Regions from separate parts of the Homo sapiens genome. Here region 2 is linked to region 1. Evidence: promoter capture Hi-C in 16 types of primary human blood cells and fetal thymus (Javierre and others, 2016). All regions are on one chromosome and are shown on one strand. Each heading gives the region's core, a stretch centred on a gene start or on the middle of the fragment in contact. The rest is flanking DNA. Distances are from core to core; before and after follow the strand shown.

The links. The method cuts DNA at HindIII sites, captures the fragments that hold promoters and counts their contacts. A CHiCAGO score of 5 or more calls a contact.
Region 2: a contact is called between the fragment with the promoter of OR8U1 here and the fragment with the promoter of OR5T3 in region 1, in 1 of 17 cell types (neutrophils). The highest score is 5.8, in neutrophils.

Annotation. Positions count from the first base shown.
Region 1 is chr11:56,250,032-56,255,674 of GRCh38, forward strand. It overlaps OR5T3 (olfactory receptor family 5 subfamily T member 3), which reads left to right and starts at 2,223. Exons shown (of 1, transcript NM_001004747.2): 1 at 2,223-3,191. The coding sequence starts at 2,223. The coding sequence ends at 3,191. The HindIII fragment of the contact is 3,630 bases long and covers 25-3,654 here.
Region 2 is chr11:56,372,040-56,377,684 of GRCh38, forward strand. OR8U1 (olfactory receptor family 8 subfamily U member 1) reads left to right here and starts at 3,585. Exons shown (of 1, transcript NM_001005204.1): 1 at 3,585-4,514. The coding sequence starts at 3,585. The coding sequence ends at 4,514. The HindIII fragment of the contact is 6,958 bases long and covers 163-5,645 here.

The sequences.
Region 1 (5,643 bases), core at 973-3,472:
TTGGAAGGAGAAGTAATTTTTCCAAGCTTATGCTGCTAAACATGACATTTAAACATAGAGTTTTAGAGTCCAAATATAATTCCCAGTATTCTACAGTTGCCTTATTTCAGATATCTTAGGAAAATAAAGTCTGGAATTGTAATGTAGCTGACCTTTCTCCTCTATGTGGTGGTAAACATGTATTTTGTAATGGACTCCTTTGGTAGATTATTAGCACATTTTTCAAAATTCACTGGCATTTTTTTTTTGAATCGTGCTTCTTCTTATCTGGCTAATTCCTGTTTGTTCCTGACTCTTGTCAGTAAACGTTTGTATATATCCCATTGATTCTTCTAACACAGAAAGAAAGAGAGAGAAAGAGAGAGAAAGGAGAAAATATAGGAGAAAGAGAGGATAGGAATTTGTATAAGAGAACTATATTTTTTATGACTCAAAAATACATTAATTCATATTTAAAATATTTATTGATAACTTTATAAGCTATTTTATTCACATAACACAAACAAAATTACTTAATATATTTGTGTATGTGTGTGTTGTCATGAGTAATATGTAAGTAGTCTGGATTTACACAGAAAGTGGAATTTAACTGAATTATATCTTTTGCTGTAGAATTTTCTAAGAATCAAATGAGAATTTTTGTTTCGTTCTGTAGTCCCTCATTTATGAGGGTATTTATTTTGTATATTAAAAAAATCTTCCACATGGATCTGTTAGGACATTTCTATAATAATATATATAAACACTTGGCCTTTTTTTTTCTTTCTAAAAGTGGTTTTAGTCTTATTTGTTCATTCTCTTCTTAATGTGTGGTCATCTTAACATGACAAAATTTTGGTATGTCTCACATCATGAATATAAATCATTTGTAAGTCACTGAATTCAGAATGGACCTGCATATGACAGAGTTGTCACCCCTTTTAAAACTTTCATAATCTATGACATGATAAAAGAAAAACAAAGTCACCTTGCTTAAATCTCCCCTCTAATTTTACCTCTAAATTTAGTGTATGTAGTACTAAACCGTTTCAATAACAGGTTTTCAGTCTAGATACAGAAGTCCCTGTAACCTTGTTACCTTTTTTCTTTTAATTATTTATTTATTTTTGGTTGTGTAATTGTCTTTCTTCATACTTGTCAATGTGAAACAGAATGATACCATCAGGAAAGAAGTCCAGAGGACAAACACTACTTTCTTGCAAATATAGTAATGTTATTTTTTAGCCAGATATTCTATAATTTTTATTAGTTATTATTGGTGATTTTTATTTCATAGTAATTTTAGAAACTCTAAAAGCAACTATAATATACTAAAAGAATGGCCATGATTTATTTTTAACAGAAATATAAAATAAAATAAAATAAAATACATCCAAGGACTTTGCAAAAATAACAAACATATGAATTATTAGTAAGATATATCTCACATTGTTATTAAGTTGAAATTTAAAAACAGTTATGATAAACAAGGTACAGAGGCCAAAATTTGCCAACTAGGTGATATATATTTCAGGAAGAAAAAATCCTGAAAATAAAACACATTGTAATGTTTGTAAAGGTACGTCTATCTCCAGAATACAGTCTGCTCTTCTATGTAATGGAACAAGATAATTGCCAGAACAGAGGACATGAAATGGTTTTATTTAAAAAGGCTGCTGCATGCGACAAGTTGAAATGTATGTCTGACTTATCCCCATTTTCTAGTCATTTGGAAGCCTTTTAAATTAAATAGTTTTGATATTTTTAAACATTTAAATTCAACTGTGCTGTGAGTGTGGTTTCTCTTATTTTAAAATTGTGAACATTTACAAAAGACATTTCATGTACTTCATCACAAATCTAAAAGTGTACTCAAGTGTGTGCTTTCCACTATAACATATTTAGTTTTAAATATTTCTACATTCAGCAATCTTTGTGAGCTTTAGGACATAATATGAGAGGAAGCAGTAAAAATTTCAACTGAAAATTAACTGGAAAATAAAATCACTTTAATTAGCAGGGTTTTTTAAAAACATGATAAATTTAGCCAAGAAATTAATTACATATTTTTTTTCCTTTTACTTATACAGTGAAATTCATCTATTTGGCTCCAATTACTTCATCATTGTCTATTCCATTACTATCAGGGAAATTATTATGCCCCAAGAAAAAAACAAGGATACAATTGAATGGACTCCACTTTCACAGGCTATAACCTTTATAACCTGCAAGTAAAAACTGAAATGGACAAGTTGTCATCAGGTTTGGATATATACAGGAATCCACTGAAGAACAAGACTGAAGTCACCATGTTTATATTGACAGGCTTCACAGATGATTTTGAGCTGCAAGTCTTCCTATTTTTACTATTTTTTGCAATCTATCTCTTTACCTTGATAGGCAATTTAGGGCTGGTTGTGTTGGTCATTGAGGATTCCTGGCTCCACAACCCCATGTATTATTTTCTTAGTGTTTTATCATTCTTGGATGCTTGCTATTCTACAGTTGTCACTCCAAAAATGTTGGTCAATTTCCTGGCAAAAAATAAATCCATTTCATTTATCGGATGTGCAACACAGATGCTTCTTTTTGTTACTTTTGGAACTACAGAATGTTTTCTCTTGGCTGCAATGGCTTATGATCACTATGTAGCCATCTACAACCCTCTCCTGTATTCAGTGAGCATGTCACCCAGAGTCTATGTGCCACTCATCACTGCTTCCTACGTTGCTGGCATTTTACATGCTACTATACATATAGTGGCTACATTTAGCCTGTCCTTCTGTGGATCCAATGAAATTAGGCATGTCTTTTGTGATATGCCTCCTCTCCTTGCTATTTCTTGTTCTGACACTCACACAAACCAGCTTCTACTCTTCTACTTTGTGGGTTCTATTGAGATAGTCACTATCCTGATTGTCCTCATTTCCTGTGATTTCATTCTGTTGTCCATTCTGAAGATGCATTCTGCTAAGGGAAGGCAAAAGGCCTTCTCTACATGTGGCTCTCACCTAACTGGAGTGACAATTTATCATGGAACAATTCTCGTCAGTTATATGAGACCAAGTTCCAGCTATGCTTCAGACCATGACATCATAGTGTCAATATTTTACACAATTGTGATTCCCAAGTTGAATCCCATCATCTATAGTTTGAGGAACAAAGAAGTAAAAAAGGCAGTGAAGAAAATGTTGAAATTGGTTTACAAATGAAGAATATATTTAAAATTGAGTAAACCTGAAAAAAATGTTGAGTGTCAGAGTTCACATCTCTATATTTTAGTTAAAGTATTTGCATATCAAAGAATAGTTTCAAAAAAGCATTAAGCAGCCTGCCAATGCAGCATTTTTCAAATGTAAACAAATTGCATCACATATTTGCCAATTAATTTGTTCAGAGATCTATATTAAATATTATTTGATATAAATATATTGTTATTGTTACCAACCACACACTACTAACAACAGCTTTCACAGTAAGTAAAAATCAGTTACACACTTATAACTAGTAAGTGAATCCTACAGAATCCTGGGAATTGATAAATGCTTACATGGCTGATAAAAAGTTTTTGCATTCATTGTGGAGTTACTTCCTCAATCTATAAGCCCTAAGAAGAAATATCCAAATTTTACTTTACTTTCCCTAAATGTGCCTTCATAAACTGAGATCTACTCAAGCTTCCAAACATGCCTTTTGCTGTGTTTATATCTACATCATAAATTCTTTCCACAATTAAATGCTTTCCTTGCCCCTTTTCAACCACAGAAGCTGATTGTAGTCATTGTGAAACTATATTGGTTGTGAATGCTAATATTTATTGAGAGTGTTCTGAAGGCTCAGGAAACACTATACCCCAGGAATGAAACTATGACATATGTATAAATGACTGCTCTAAGGTCTGACAAACTAGCATATCCTTGCTCACTTCGTAGTCCTGCCATTATCTTCTATCTACTTTACCTGTAAGAAATGACTGCAATGTCATCCTTCCACAAAATTTACACCTAGTGAGCAAGCCCACAGAATGGAAATTATTTTGCTTTACCTCTACTCACATCTGGCTTTACTTTACGTATTCTGCTTTAGTAAGTTTTGTTAAAACATTTATTTGAAGATTCATTAAAAGTGGAAATTAATTGTTTTTTCAAAAAACACACACTTGTCCCTCCAAGGATATTTTTATGTGAATTAACCAGAATGATCCAATCATAACATAGTAGCCACACTGAAAATTTCAGACATCAGTTTCTAATCTTTACTAATCAATTATGCAAAGAGAACCCAACCCTCTTTTTTTGAATAAGCAAATGCTTGCAGTCAAAATCTGTACTAAATTTCCTCTTAAAAAAATAAATCTATTTTTAGATACAAAACCCTGATTACACTGTAGACAAAATTTTCTTAAAAAAATAAGCTATTTGAATTACAGAATCTTAAAATGTAGTTTCCTGTGTATGATCTTTTGGGGAGAATGTTCTGGAAGAAAATTTAATATGCTTCAAAAATGTGTCTAAATAAATAGCTGTCTCACAAAATTTAAAATTTCTGCAGAATTCCAGAATCATTTATTTTTTTGAGGGTTTTTCAAATTATGGTGTCAAAATTGTTAGGTAACGTTTTAGTCAAGGTTGCTATCTCTTTTTTTGTTTTGTTTCTCTTTCAAATTAGCAAAAATAGTCATTCTTTGAGAAAGGAATAGGCGAGCATTAGGTAAAATGATGCACTGACATATGCCTAAAAATATCTGGTTAACAATGCATTCAACAAACTCATTCAGAACTTGTCAAGTTAACCATCATGAAAAGTTCACTATCTCTCTTTTTATCCTAATCGATTAGAAAACAAATGGTGTGAATAAGCAGTCTCGAATGACCTGCTATTTGTTCAGGTCAAGGTGAGAAAAATGGTATATTTAACTCTCAAGTCAATAGAACATTTTGTTACATATCTCAGCTCAATTACCTTTCCCCCCAAAAGAATGATTTGACTCACTATGACCCCATGGAGCCTCTCTCACTTATCACAGTTGCCATTTAGCATGTGATGTTGTGATTTTATAATATATTATCCAGATCTACCATGATGCTGACATTGTAACTTGCATAAAAACATGCATTGGGCATATTTGTCCTCAAAATTGTATCCCTGAGTCCTAAAAGAGTACCTAGAACTTATGGTTTGCTGACAAAATATTTATTAAATAAATAGTGAGTACATGAATGAATTATATTTAATACTAATAATTAACATATGCTTATCAGGTACTGGACAATCATGTAAAAGTTTTTACTATATTAACTTATGTAATTCTCATAACTTCAGGAAGTGGTTGTAGTAATATCTTTTAACAAAGTTGAGGAAACAGCAGCACATAAATTTTAAGGAATTTGCTCAATGCCACATAGCTCTAAAGGGTGATGTCAGGATTCACATCTAAGCTGTCTGGTTACAGAGTTCCTGTTTTTAAGCTTGTTATACATGGAGTGAAAGAACAGATTTATCTTTTCACTTTACCAACTTTATTAGTTATCCTCCAGAGAGCATTATTGAGAATACTGAAGCTCCTCATTAAGTCTGTGGCAGAAATAAGAAGAAAAAGGAATGCATTTTAAAAGTACTGAAAATGTGGTTTCCACTGATTTGGCCATTCATTCCATTCATTGA
Region 2 (5,645 bases), core at 2,335-4,834, 120 kb after region 1:
GTACGAAATCACAGAGATGGAAAATTAAGCCAATTTTACTAGATGTATTTCTCATTTGAAAAAACAACTATGTACTCAAATAATTACTTAATATATTACACACACACTTATAATTCTTATCCTAATTAATATTTACACCATTTAACTAAGTTGTGATTTCTAAGCTTTTGTCACTTTTCCTGTTTCAGTCAAAGTACTGTGTTCATAAAGCTACTGTTATTGTTAGAAATTTACTTAACAGAAAACTACAGGGATGATTTTAAATTTATAGCCAATATGGAAAATATACAAATCCACTCTTCTTACTCACACAGTAATTTACAAGACATTTCTTATCCGTTGTCTAGTTTGGAGTGACTAGGACATAAGCACATGCCCAGAGCTTTTGCAAAATGTCTCATGCATAAAATATTAAGGAGTAGGTCCTTGGAAGAATTGGATACACATTTCATAGAAAGCTATTTGTGAGAATTTTCAAAAAAGATAGTTAGCTACCTGCCTTTCAAAGCCAATATTGAAGATTGACACTAAATCTACAACAGCAAATATATTTTGTAAAACATAAAAATATAGTAATGTTTTTAAAGTTAGAGGACCCTTAATAATGTCATACTAAAAACAGCTTCACATCTGCAGTTATTTAAAAACAGATCAGGTCAATAAATCTTTAGCCTGCCTTGCAATTCCAATGAAGTACAGACTGTAATTTTTATGATACTCTTACTTGCTTCATACTCTGGAACAAGATCCTTTGGGAAAGAGACACTAACAAAAACCACATAGTCATTGCTATCCACACCTATTATGAGGAGAAATACAAGTATCCTCTTCCCAGGTAGAATAGAGCATATTTCAAGATGGTGGGCTTTGACTCATTTATAGCTAATACATTTGCTATATTAACTCGAGATAAGTATTTTTAAAATTAAAGAGTGCCGTACAATAATTAGAGAAAAATCATTACGAGTACATTTTATAAAATAAAGTGTTTTCTCTGGTTTTATTTTAATTTTATATGTGGGTATGCATTGTGATTTTAAAATATTTCTTATTAGATTGAAGTAACTAAAAATTCCTGTTTAGAATTTTTAAAAATGTTTGGAAATAAACAGTTCCGTTATTGACCAAATTATACATTCTATGCCCAAACTCTGCTTTCCCCTCTTGCAGTAGCTAGAAATTTTACCCAGGATTAGTGGGGCATTCGTTAGACATTACTAATATGTCTCTAGAGATATTTTCCAAAGAAAATAATATAACCTAGGGGCAAGGGGAAGAAATATTCAAATGTCATTCCAAAATTAATCTTTAATTCCCCATCATCTAACATCTAGAAGAGACTACATTAGGAAATGAATAAAAACAGCGTGATTTTCAACCACAAAGGGTCTAAAGTCTATCAGGGGAAGATATATGGAAACAGATGGTTGTAATAAGAGATGAAATATAGATTAGGTATGTCTAAAATGTTTTTGGAAGACAAATATGAAAGCTGTTAACATGGGAAGGAAAAATTAAGTAGCTCTTCATAGAAGTGTGATATTTCAGCAGAGCTTGAAAGATAAGTAGGAGTTTCCATTTTCACTGTCTATTTTTCTGTAAAGAAAGAAACTAGGAATGGCAAGATTAAAAATAGAGAAGTATGGAAAGGCATTTTGTTATTGACAAATTGAGACCAATCATTAATTGAAACAATGGATGCTCCTGCTGACTGGAGAGTTGAGTGGAACCGGGATAATAAAAATATTCAGAGATGATACTATAAAAAGTCACATGTCCTTTCAAATATAATGCATGCTCTCCTTTGGATTCAAAGTAAAATAGTTTGTGTGCACACGTTTCAGGGTTTTGTGTTTTACAGGTGGAGAAAAACGAATGATAAGAAAAGAGACCAGAAATATAGGGTAAAGTTGGATAACGCTTGCTTTCTTTCCAGCCTGGACTACTATCTATTCTTTCACTGCTCTATCTTCAGACTCTATGCACGCTCTGAAAATTAATAGTCCCCACTATATATTATTGAATAAAGAACTGAATGAATTGAAATAACCTTCTACAAGAGTAGCAGTTAGACAAAATCCAGGAAAATGTTAAGGATAGAATGTTCAGTCTTGGTTACAGATTACAGTGGGTGGTATAGCTAGGAACTGTTAAAGGTAAGTTGCTTATCTACTCATGTTAGTGAAAATGGTTCAGTGTGTGGGGACTAGTGTGTAGGTTTTGAAACTGTGCTTGTAACTACTAGTAGATCTTAAATCCACTTTTTAGGATCCCAAGAAGCATTGTTTGAATTAAATAGAATGGAACAGATTACGCTAGAAAACGAAAGAATATGTAATACAAGCGGATGTCAGGGAAGCAAAAGTATTATTCTCAATATATCTATTAGTTCCATGCCATCTTATAACAAGTATTTATTTCTATAGTTTGTCATAAAAAAGTTTGAGTCTGAAAGTTAGTCTTCTTGAGAAGGGTTTGGTCTGAGCAGTGCAAAGACCAAAAATTCTCTTTTTACTTACCTCCCTTTTCTCTTTTCTTTTTCCTATTTTAACTCAAAATTGACGTTCAGTTTTTAACATGCAATTAGAGATTTGGAATTTATGGGTTCCTATGTCCTTATCCATCAATTTCCATGTTGCTATAATTAGACATTAATGTTCCATCTGTATTAGGGTTTTAGGATATCTAGTATATACTTACATATTGCATATCTAATATGTATCTTATACATATAATAAATATAATTTATTTAGAATAAAATTAAGGTAAATAAGTATTTTTTGAAAGTTACTACTTACCACATTATGTTGCTCAATAAATATGTTTATTAATACAAAACACAAATAACTGAAATGGATTCTTTGATTAATTGAGCAGAAGTAAATACTCAAGAGCTATTAGTAAACTCTGAAGAACAGTGAAGAAACACAGGCTCTTATTTTATTTATATATTTATTTGCATAGTAATTTTCAAAGCGTGAAATTTATAAGTTTTTAAGGAAAGCTCTATTTTCCATTACTAGATATAATGGTGGGAGAGAGAAGAAAGAGGAGTTGAGAGACATGATATTTGATACTATTTGGGTATTCAATAATTCAATTTTAAAATTATCCAAAATGAATAAGAAAATGATGATACACAACATTAAATAGAGTAGGAAAACAAAAATTAATGCAAAAAATGTAATTAAATCAGTTTTTTAATAAAAGATAAAAAAGCAGACATAAACTGAATGTAAAGAAACATAAACTTCCAAATCTCTTAGAAAGCAAATATCAATTTTACTCTAATTTACAGGATAAGATTATGTGAGGATTCATTCCCTACATTCATGTAAGTTCATGCTTTAGATATAAAGATGTTTATACGGTGTTATATTCTTTTTGCTCTCCATCACATTTCCAGAATTCCAGTATGCTAACAATCATTATATTAGTTAAATAAATTAATAAATAAATCTAATTAATTAAACTCTTTACAATACAATAAATATAAAAACACCACATATAGGATTTACAGTATTAAAATATGACTTAGACTTAACTCTTTTCTCTACTTCCACATTTAGATGGCCAGAAAAGATATGGCTCACATCAATTGCACCCAGGCGACAGAGTTTATTCTTGTGGGCCTCACAGACCATCAGGAGTTGAAGATGCCCCTCTTTGTGCTATTCTTATCCATCTACCTCTTCACAGTGGTAGGCAACTTGGGTTTGATCCTACTCATTAGAGCGGATACAAGTCTCAACACACCAATGTACTTCTTTCTTAGCAACCTAGCTTTTGTGGATTTCTGTTACTCTTCTGTCATTACACCCAAAATGCTTGGGAATTTCTTGTACAAACAAAATGTTATATCCTTTGATGCATGTGCTACTCAACTGGGCTGCTTTCTCACCTTCATGATATCAGAATCCTTGCTACTGGCTTCCATGGCCTATGACCGATATGTGGCCATTTGTAACCCTCTATTGTATATGGTTGTAATGACTCCAGGAATCTGCATTCAACTTGTAGCAGTTCCTTATAGCTATAGCTTCCTAATGGCACTATTTCACACCATCCTCACCTTCCGCCTCTCCTATTGCCACTCCAACATTGTCAACCATTTCTATTGTGATGACATGCCTCTCCTCAGGCTAACTTGCTCAGACACTCGCTTCAAACAGCTCTGGATCTTTGCCTGTGCTGGTATCATGTTCATTTCCTCCCTTCTGATTGTCTTTGTCTCCTACATGTTCATCATTTCTGCCATCCTGAGGATGCATTCAGCTGAGGGAAGACAGAAGGCTTTCTCGACGTGTGGCTCTCACATGCTGGCAGTCACCATATTCTATGGGACCCTCATTTTTATGTACTTACAGCCTAGCTCTAGCCATGCCCTGGACACAGACAAGATGGCCTCTGTCTTCTACACAGTGATCATTCCCATGTTGAATCCCTTAATCTATAGCCTCCAGAATAAGGAGGTGAAAGAAGCTCTGAAGAAAATCATTATCAATAAAAACTAGAGTTTTGTGTTTATAAAATTAAGAAAGTAACTTGAGTAAGGAAAAATGGACTTCTTTCATGGTATGATTTTTTTCCCAGTATAAGTTATCAGGATCCTTGTTTCTCAATATGTGATGTATACATATATTTTCGCTGTGTAATACAATTTTCTAGAGAATTTCTCTTAGAACGTTAGGTATAAAAGTAACTATAAGAATTTACAACACTTCTCTTATTTTTCAAGTGGAAAATATATTAAAATTATTAATTTTCTTGCATAATATTTTATACCAATTTTCCTATTTCTCAAATGAAGAATGCATAAAAAGTCATCATCAAGATATATAATTAGTTATGTGCAGAGCACAGACAAAAGTTAACTCCTCTCCCCGTCCATCCCCAGTTCAGGATTCTGAAGCTGTATTTACAATATCCCACGTGAAAAATAAAGACACATAGTCTAAACATTTTCTTTCTCAATTCCTAATTTTTTGAAAAAATACATGACAATATAAAAATGTCCTATATTTATGCATTTAACATATTGTCTTTATTAATACAAAGAGTACTGCTTTCTAACCTCACCTATGTTACTGACTGAATGTACCTTCTACTTCCTGGAAGTCTTGTTCTGTCTCTGAAGACTAACTCTCTAAGAGAACTGCTTTTCTTATGCCTACAAGATCTCATTATACTTTTTCCCAAAATGTAAATAATGTAACTCAGGGATAGAATTCTGGAGGGAGGAGGGGAGGGCATTATAATTCAAACAAATATATTCACAGTCATTGAAACATCATAAATCATTTTTCCAGTAACAAGGATTATATACAGTTGTGCACAGCAAAGCTCAGGTAAGCTGGTCATTATTTATTAAGGTATAGCTTATAACTCAATGAACCCAGTAGGCAATGTAGCCGAGTGAATAAGCACATGCCTTATAGTCAAAGTATGTGGTTAGATCCCAAACATGTCATTGTGCTCTAGGTATGCTCTTATGAGTTTACTCATCAGATAAATGAGAATAATGTTACTCAGTTTAGAGACTTTTATAGGACTAAGCAATATGGAAAGGGGTAATAATTCATGGTAGGCACTTGAGTATCATTTCCCTTCCTTCTATGAACCTGCAGACTTGAGTGCTAGTCTAC